Linked DNA regions of Homo sapiens: regions 1 and 2 are each linked to region 3. The links are contacts of gene promoters, found by promoter capture Hi-C in human tissues and cell types (Jung and others, 2019). All regions are on one chromosome and are shown on one strand. Each heading gives the region's core, a stretch centred on a gene start or on the middle of the fragment in contact. The rest is flanking DNA. Distances are from core to core; before and after follow the strand shown.

Evidence for each region. The method cuts DNA at HindIII sites, captures the fragments that hold promoters and counts their contacts. A contact is called where the count stands out against the background at its distance.
Region 1: a fragment that was not itself captured here is called in contact with the fragment with the promoter of RRP36 in region 3 in 1 of the 25 tissues and cell types used here (spleen).
Region 2: a fragment that was not itself captured here is called in contact with the fragment with the promoter of RRP36 in region 3 in 1 of the 25 tissues and cell types used here (dorsolateral prefrontal cortex).

What each region holds. Positions count from the first base shown.
Region 1 is chr6:42,691,823-42,694,522 of GRCh38, forward strand. It overlaps UBR2 (ubiquitin protein ligase E3 component n-recognin 2), which reads left to right. Exons shown (of 47, transcript NM_001363705.2): 47 at 1-1,683. Among named protein-coding and RNA genes, the nearest start is that of PRPH2, 29 kb to the right of the region's middle. The HindIII fragment of the contact is 3,806 bases long and covers 1-2,700 here.
Region 2 is chr6:43,440,940-43,443,639 of GRCh38, forward strand. ABCC10 (ATP binding cassette subfamily C member 10) reads left to right here. Exons shown (of 22, transcript NM_001198934.2): 9 at 923-1,021; 10 at 2,031-2,220. Among named protein-coding and RNA genes, the nearest start is that of MIR6780B, 7.7 kb to the left of the region's middle. The HindIII fragment of the contact is 4,033 bases long and covers 1-2,700 here.
Region 3 is chr6:43,020,223-43,022,922 of GRCh38, forward strand. RRP36 (ribosomal RNA processing 36) reads left to right here and starts at 1,401. Exons shown (of 7, transcript NM_033112.4): 1 at 1,401-1,562. The coding sequence starts at 1,433. It overlaps KLHDC3 (kelch domain containing 3), which reads left to right. Exons shown (of 11, transcript NM_057161.4): 11 at 445-1,072. The coding sequence ends at 511. RefSeq lists enhancers at 953-1,684, 1,083-1,192, 1,253-1,302, 1,685-2,416 and silencers at 1,393-1,462, 1,473-1,522, 1,533-1,602. The HindIII fragment of the contact is 3,944 bases long and covers 299-2,700 here.

The DNA.
Region 1 (2,700 bases), core at 119-2,618, 330 kb before region 3:
CTTTGAGAAAACTCACTTAGAGGGCTTTCCAAAAACTTAGGATGGTCTAAAAAATTAGGATATTCTTTTAGAATTAGGAAGAAAAATTAGGATATTCTAAAAGAATATGGATTAAAAATTTAGGATATTCTTTTAGATATCCTAATATCTAGATGAGAGGCCTTCCTTCATAAGATCTGGTTGTTTGGGCTGTGGTTGGCATAAGTGATATTTATTTTGGCCTCTGTCACATCCAGTTTCTTGAGCTTTTAAGGTAAGCTTCTTTTGGCTTTTTTTCAGATGTTCACCAAGCTTAAGTTTAAAATAATAGGTATTCTAAAAGAGTATCCTAATTTTCTTATCTGTATTCTTTTAGAATACCCTAATGTTTCAGACAGTGATATTCTCTTGTTATTTCTAAGGCTAAATTGGCAGAGTATATCATCTAAAGCCAAACACTGAAGAAGGTGAGAACCCACTCCCACCCAGCCAGCATTTCCTGGAACAGACAAGCTGCTGCTTCCTTGCTGGCTCACTTAGTGCATTCCTGGGATGGTCTGGCACCCAGGCTTTTTATTCTTTTTGATCATTGTTCTTACTGAGGTGCCTTCCTAGAACAAGAGCCACTTACAAAATAGCTTATAATTATTATGTACCACACAACTACTATTGTTTGATGTATGACTGCTGAGAGCTTGAATACATGCAGAGAGTGACTGAAGACTTAGTAGAGGAATAAATTCTGAGCCTGTCTAAGGTGGGGCTAAGGAACAGATGAGTAATAAGAGGCTCTTGGATTTTTTTAACCAATGCAACTGACCCTTTCAATCAGTTTTCTTTGAATTACATCTACAAGTTTTGTTCCACTCAGCTACCAGTCAACTAGGCATGCTCCACAGTATCACAGGAAGAAGGTCAGAAATCTGGAACTGAAGCTAAAAGAAGTGAGGATGTAGAAGCCACATTCCTCTCCAAGGTAGTGTGTGAAAGAACCGCCCCCTCTTGACAGGAGGATGACCGTCGCCATTCTTGCGTGGGACTGACTCACCCAGCTGAGAGGAGGACCAATAGAAAGAAAATTCACATTTGAGTCCACCTCTCTCCCCCTTTTTCTGGCCTTCATTCATAAGATCTGGTTGTTTGGGCTGTAGGTGGCATAATTCATGTTTATTTTGGCCTCTGTCACATCCAGTTTCTTTAGCTTTTAAGGTAAGCTTCTTTTGGCTTTTTTTCATATGTTCACCAAGCTAAAATTTAAAATAATAAGACCAGGTTTCTCTCTGTACAAGTGGATTATAAACATTTTCACCAAATCATAACAATACTCCAGCTTTCCGGTCCGACTTCCTAGGAGCCTGGAGTTAGCAAAGGTTGTCTCTGGATTTCATTCTCTGAGAATATCACAGAGCCTGGGAGAAGATGAATTTACATGAAATTGCAACATACACACCTTTTTATTTTCTGGTGTTAAGCTAGTTGTCTTTCCTACCTTACAAATCATGTTAGTTTTATGATTTGTTCCGCATGTTTTATGTTTATTGTAGAAATGTTTATATAACATACGCTTTCCATATCAGGGAAAATCATATCTGTTTAATAAATTGGCTATAACTTTAATATCTGTGGACAACTTGTAAAATTTGGAATGTATCATATGTAAAAAGTTTAAAGATATCCAAATAAATGCTTTAGGTGTTGGCATTACTTTTGGTTAGCATATATCTTTCTGTTTCATTTTACACATTTACCTGCCACAGCAAGGTGCCCGTGTCACCTTGCTACAAATATAGTGGGATATCTGTATTAGCTTTAAATTTAAGAGGGTTATATTATTATGGCCACTAGCCAAACTATCTTGACCTTCTCAGAGAAAGTGTGATCATCATTTCAGCTGATTAAGTTTCATATTCATTAGCCATGACAGCGTGTGACCTTTGTGGACCATTTTGGAACTCAAATCACTGGGAAACAGGGCACTCCAAGACCTGTGTCTGGGTTTAAACTCTTGTTCATCCTTACCTGGTGATCTCAAGGTCCTTGTCCTTACACACTCCCCTAGTGTGCTGGCTGGTTTTTCAGGGCTGTTGGAGGTTTTTTTTTTCTTTTTTTTATGACCACTTCCTGCTTTTGAGAGAGAGACATAGAAAGGCAGCTACACTGTCTTCCTAGGGGAGTCATTGCCCATGAGAATTCTGTTTTTTTTGAAATCCTCTTGAGAGCATCAAACTAAAACAGCAAGGTTTCCATTGCACTCACCCTGCCTCCTGGTCAGTAACACTGCTCCCAGCCTACTGCCTTCACCACTCTTGTCTTTAGTTCCAGGAACTCATGAAGCCCCTTCTGACATGCTCCTCCCTGTCTTCCTACTCTTGATTTTGGTGTGGTGGTGGTTTGGTTTGGTTTTTTTAAAGAGACAGGGTCTTGCTTTGTCCCACAGGCTGGAGTGCAGTGGCACAGCCTTGGTTCACTGCAGCCTCAACCTTCTGGGCTCGAGCAATCCTCCCACCTCAGCCTCCCAGTAGCTGGTACTATAGAGGCACATGCCACCACACCTGGCTAATTTTTGTATTTTTTTTGTAGATACAGCCGCGCTATGTTGCCCAGGCTGGTCTTGAACCCTTGGGCTCAAATGATTCTCCCGCCTCAGCCTCCCAAATGCTAGGATTATAGGTGTGAACCACTGTGCCTGGCCTGTTCCTACTCTTGTTTTTTAAGTCACAT
Region 2 (2,700 bases), core at 1-2,500, 420 kb after region 3:
AAAAAAAACAAAAATTAGCTGGGTGTCATGGCTCACACCTGTAGTCCTAGCTACTCTGGAGGCTGAGGCAGGAGAATTGCATGAACCCGAGAGGCGGAGGTTGCAGTGAGCTGAGATCATGCCACTGCACTCCAGCCTGGGCGACAGAGCAAGACTCTGTCTCACACACACAAAAAAGTAAAAACCTATAAAAGCTTTTACATCAAATCTGCCCAAGATACCTTACTACCTTGCCTGTTAAAAAGACAGGGTAATAGGCCAGGCACGGTGGCTCACGCCTATAATCCCAGCACTTTGGGAGGCCAAGGTGGGTGGATCACAAGGTCAGGAGATCGAGACCATCCTGGCTAACATGGTGAAACCCCGTCTCTACTAAAAATGCAAAAATTAGCTGGGCATGGTGGCACACGCCTGTAGTCCCAGCTACTCGAGAGGCTGAGGCAGGAAAATCGCTTGAACCCAGGAGGTGGAGGTTTCAGTGAGCTGAGATTGTGCCACTGCACTCCAGCCTGGCGACAGAGCGAGACTCCGTCTCAAAAAAAAAAAAGGGTAGTAAATGTAACAAAGTAGTTAAGAATCTGAATCTGAACTTGTGTCCTGCCCCTTACTAGCTGTGGGCCAGCTAGTTAATCTGTCTGAGCTTTGGTTGCACCTGAGAAAAGGAAATGATACCATCTTCATAAGATTACATTGGGGCTTGAATGAGAGAATGCCTGTAAAGTGCTAGGCACATAGTGTTCAATAAGTGCTTGATGTTATTGGAATTATGTCTTGTCTCCTCTGACTAGCTCACCCCAAATTTAAGTCTACTCTCCTCAAGCTCCCTACTTCTCTTGACTCCCACTATCTCCTGCAAAGGGATAGGAAGTGGGCCAGAAGGTAATGGGAGCTCCCTGACCCACTGGGGCACCTGTTCCATCAGATCCTGCCTGCTGGAGACCAGACAGAGGTGGGGGAGAAGGGTGTCACCCTTAGCGGAGGACAGCGTGCCCGGATTGCCCTTGCTCGTGCTGTCTACCAGGTCAGTTAAAGATGGAGGTTGCAGTGGCAGGGAGGTGGGGGGAGTCCAGAGCCTTGGGAACTTGGCTGAGTTAGGAGGATAGGAATATTTTCCTTAGCATCTGGTTCCTTCCCTCCTCCCTTGCATGTTCCTGAGGTATTGGCCATCTCATCCCCTTTTGCAGATTTAAGGCAGAGTTCAAGGCCTTTAAAAAGTATTTGTAGGCTGGGCATGGTGGCTTAGGTCTGTAATCCCAGCACTTTGGGAGGCCAAGGCAGGAGGATTGCTTGGGCCCAGGAGTTTAAGATCAGCCTGGGCAATGTGGCAAAACCCTGTCTCTACAAAAAATAATTTTAAAAAGTTAGTTGGTGTAATCCTAGCACTTTGAGAGGCCGAGGAGGGTGGATCACTTGAGGTCAGGAGTTCGAGACCAGCTGGGCCAACATGGTGAAACCCCATCGCTACTGAAAAACATACAAAAATTAGCTGGGCATAGTGGCACATGCCTGTAATTCCAGCTACTCGGGAGGCTGAGGCAGGAGAATCGCTTGAACCCGAGAGGCAGAGGTTGCAGTGAGCCAAGATCACACCATTGCACTCCAGCCTGGGTGATGAGAATGAAACCCTGTCTCCAAAAAAATTTAGCTGGGCTTGATAGCATGCACCTGTAGTCCCAGCTACTCAGGAGGCTGAGGTGGGAAGGATCACTTGAGCCTGGGAAATTGAGGCTGCAGTGAGTGGTGTTCATGCCACTGCACTCCAGCCTGGGCAACAGAGCAAGACCATGTCTCAAAAAAAAAAAAAAGTGTTATATGGGCTGAGGGCCTGGGACCTAGGAAAGCTGAGTGCTGGCCCTGGGGTGCTGTTCTTTCTTGCCTGAAGGGATGTCCACCCTCAGGTCTCACCTCCTTCTCTGCTAGTGTAGGGGTAGCCCCCAGAGTTTCTCTCAACTGTCTTCTCTGATCACTTTGAGATCTTCTCCGGAGAGCCTTTGGGTCCTGGTGCCCACGGTACCCTCACGTCTCCATAGGAAAAGGAGCTCTATCTCCTCGATGACCCTCTGGCCGCTGTGGATGCAGATGTGGCCAACCACCTGCTGCACAGGTGCATCCTGGGCATGCTGAGCTACACCACACGGCTGCTCTGCACCCACCGCACTGAGTACCTGGAGAGGGCTGACGCGGTGCTGCTGATGGAGGCCGGGCGCCTCATCCGGGCTGGTAATGGGGGCAGGAGCCCCGTGTGAGGGAGGTGTCTGCCCAGGTCTGGCAGGGGATTGTGAAGTACAGACTCTGCCCCCTGCTGCATGTGTGCCCTGAGCCAGTCATTGCTGCCTCCCGCCTTCACAGAACTGGTGTGAGGAACTGGGAGAACAGGAGGGAAAAGGAGTACGTTGGTAAAATGCCAGTGTATTTGGGACTCATGGGCTTTGTGACTGGGTGCTCTTGGGAACTTAAAGGCCCAGGGTCTCTGAGAACATTCTCATATCTTCAGAGAAGAGAAAGGAGTCAGGTTTAGAATGGTCTTTTTGTAAAAACAAAAATTTTTAAACTCTGAAAGATTTTTATGCAGAGGGATGTGACCACCTGCAAGTTTACTGGGAGAGAAATAGGAGGAAATGAAGCTCCAGCCAGATATTAGGAATTGAGCGAAGCATGAGAAAAAGCTCTGCAGTAATGAGAAGTAACCCTGGACAGAGT
Region 3 (2,700 bases), core at 151-2,650:
AGGATAGGAGTGCTGAGTCAGAGCCTTAAAAGGATGGGAGTTAAGAGCAAAAATGGGTATTCCTGGTGGGGTGAGGCATTCCTGGTGAGGGTAAGGTGGAGGGGCTGCCTGGTTGGCTCTAAGCAAAGCAGGAAAGGCAGGTTGGGATGTTGACTGACATGTATACACAGATCTCAGGTGCCTGGACACTGCAATATACATACATACATAAACATAAACCGGAAATCCATATGAGCTTGGAGGTAGAGGAGTGGGTGGTGTTGGATTTGGTGGTGGGTGGGTTCTGATTGTTCAACCTAGTAGGTCTCTTAAGTAAGAGGTGGCTGTGGGTGGTTGACCTTTAGGAAGTTGGAGAGACTGGTGTGTTTTTAGCTTGGTTCAAACATCCCTTAGCTTGGGCTGAGGGCCCCCTCTTCTTTCTGTCTCTTATTGTTGGCCTTCCAGGTGGGAGCTGAATGCCATGACCACCAACAGCAATATCAGTCGCCCCATCGTCTCCTCCCATGGGTAGGAGGAAGTTTCTGCCACCTCCCCTCCTGAGCCTGCTGTCATCTTCACTGCCCCTGCCCATCTGTCACCCACCTGCTCCTTTGACCCCTGGACTTGGTATACCTCCATGTGGAGTTGTTGGGCGAGAGGTGTTCTCTGTGCTGTGAATTCAGTGGGGAGCTGTAGCGGGGTGGGGGCTAGGTTCCTCCCCCCTTGGGCCGAGGGCCCCTTCCCCTTGGTGCTCTGTCCCCATCCACCTCCTTTCAGCTGCTCCTGGGCCTCAGCTCTGCCCAGGGCCAGCCAGGTTCTGCTGGGAAGGGAAGGGAATGGGGAGAAGGGAGAAGCAAGCAGTGTCTGAGCCTCAGGAGCTTCCCCCTCCCCCTTTGCCTATCCCCTCCCCTCTGCTTGAGCCTTGAGCCTTGACTGGGAGCTGAAAGGAGTTGCAGCTGTTGGCATGAGACCTCCTTCTCCCCGTCTTGGGGAGGTGGGGACCAGCAGATAAATCCCACCCTTCCTTGAGCTGTCGCTGTACTCTGAAGTTCAGCCAGCTCAGATTTTATAAAAATTAATTAAAATCTCCAAACGTGTTGTGTGTTTTTGTGGAATATGGTGGAGAAGGCTGGAGTTTGCAGTGGGGGCAGGGTGCCGAGGACAAGCACCCTGAGGTTCTGGCTTCTCAGCCAAGGGTATTAGGAAACCAAATGCCACCAAGGCCTGGTCCAAGCTTCTCGGGCGTGGAACCCAGCACCCTGCGACTCGGGCAGAAGGTTGCGACAATGTCTCCAGAGCGGGTTATCCTTTGGGCCCGGCTCCCTGGCCCTCGACCGCGCAGTTTTCTGCCCATTCGTCACCACGTTGAGACCGGGAACGCCGGAAGAGGCGGGGCAGGGGCTGCCGTGAGCGGAAGCGGCGCCATTCGTCTTCCGAGCGCTACTGCCAGCTGATGCCGGGAGCTAACTACCGCGCCGGGGCCGGGGCCGGGGCCGGGGCCCGACGTCCCCGCGGGGCCCGGGACCGCGAGGAGGACGGCGGGGGCCTGGAGCCCGCGGCCGTGGCCCGCGACCTATTGAGGGGTGAGGGCATGGGGCAGGGCGGGCTGGGGAGGGGAAGGAGATTCCCAGGCGGGGCCCTGAGCCTGCAGAGACGGTGCCGGTAAGACTGCCAAGTTCTCTAAGAGGCAGACGCTACACTAGGGGTGCCCCCAGTGCAGTGGAAAGTGGGGGGTGAGAGTAGATGCTTCCGGGATTAGGACATCCTGAGAAGTTTCTTCACGGCAGGATGAGGGTTTTCGGCGATGGGGAACGTATGTGCAATAGCATGGAGGCAGGAAAAGGCATGCATGGCTGCTGAAGGCTTAGTAGATCAGAATTCAGCAGATTCCGTAGACTTTGTTTTTTTAATTTTTTTTTTTTGAGACGGAGTCTCTCTCTGTCGCCAAGGCTGGAGTGCAGTGGCGCGATGTCGGCAAGCTCCGCCTCCCGGGTTCACGCCATTCTGCTGCCTCAGCCTCCAGAGCAGCTGGGACTACAGGCGCCCGCCACCACGCCCGGCTAATTTTTTGTATTTTTAGTAGAGACGGGGTCTCACCTTGTTAGCCAGGATGGTCTCGATCTCCTGACCTCGTGATCCGCCCGCCTCAGCCTCCCAAAGTGCTGGGATTCCAGGCGTGAGCCACTGCGCCCAGCCTGTTTTTTAAATTTTTTATATTTTTTATTTTTTTGAGACAAAGTCTCGCCCTGTAGCCCAGGCTGGAGTGTAGTTGCACCATGACGGCTCACTGCGGCCTCGAACTCCCGGGCCCAAGAGATCCTCCTACCTCAGCCTTTCGAGTAGCTGGGACTGCAGGCGCGTCACCACGCCTGCACGGATGGGTTTGTTTATTTATTTATTTATTTATTTAATGTAGAAACAAGGTCTCACCTTTTTTTTTTTTTTTTTTTTGACGGCGTCTCGCTCTGTTGCCCATGCTGGAGTGCAGTAGCGCGATCTCAGCTCACTGCAAGCTCCGCCTCCCGTGTTTACGCCATTCTCCTGCCTCAGCCTCCCGAGTAGTGGGACTACAGGCGCCCGCCACCACGCCCGGCTAATTTTTTGTATTTTTAGTAGAGATGGGGTTTCACCGTGTTAGCCAGGATGGTCTCTATCTCCTGACCTCGTGATCCGCCCGCCTCGGCCTCCCAAAGTGCTGGGATTACAGGCGTGAGCCACCTC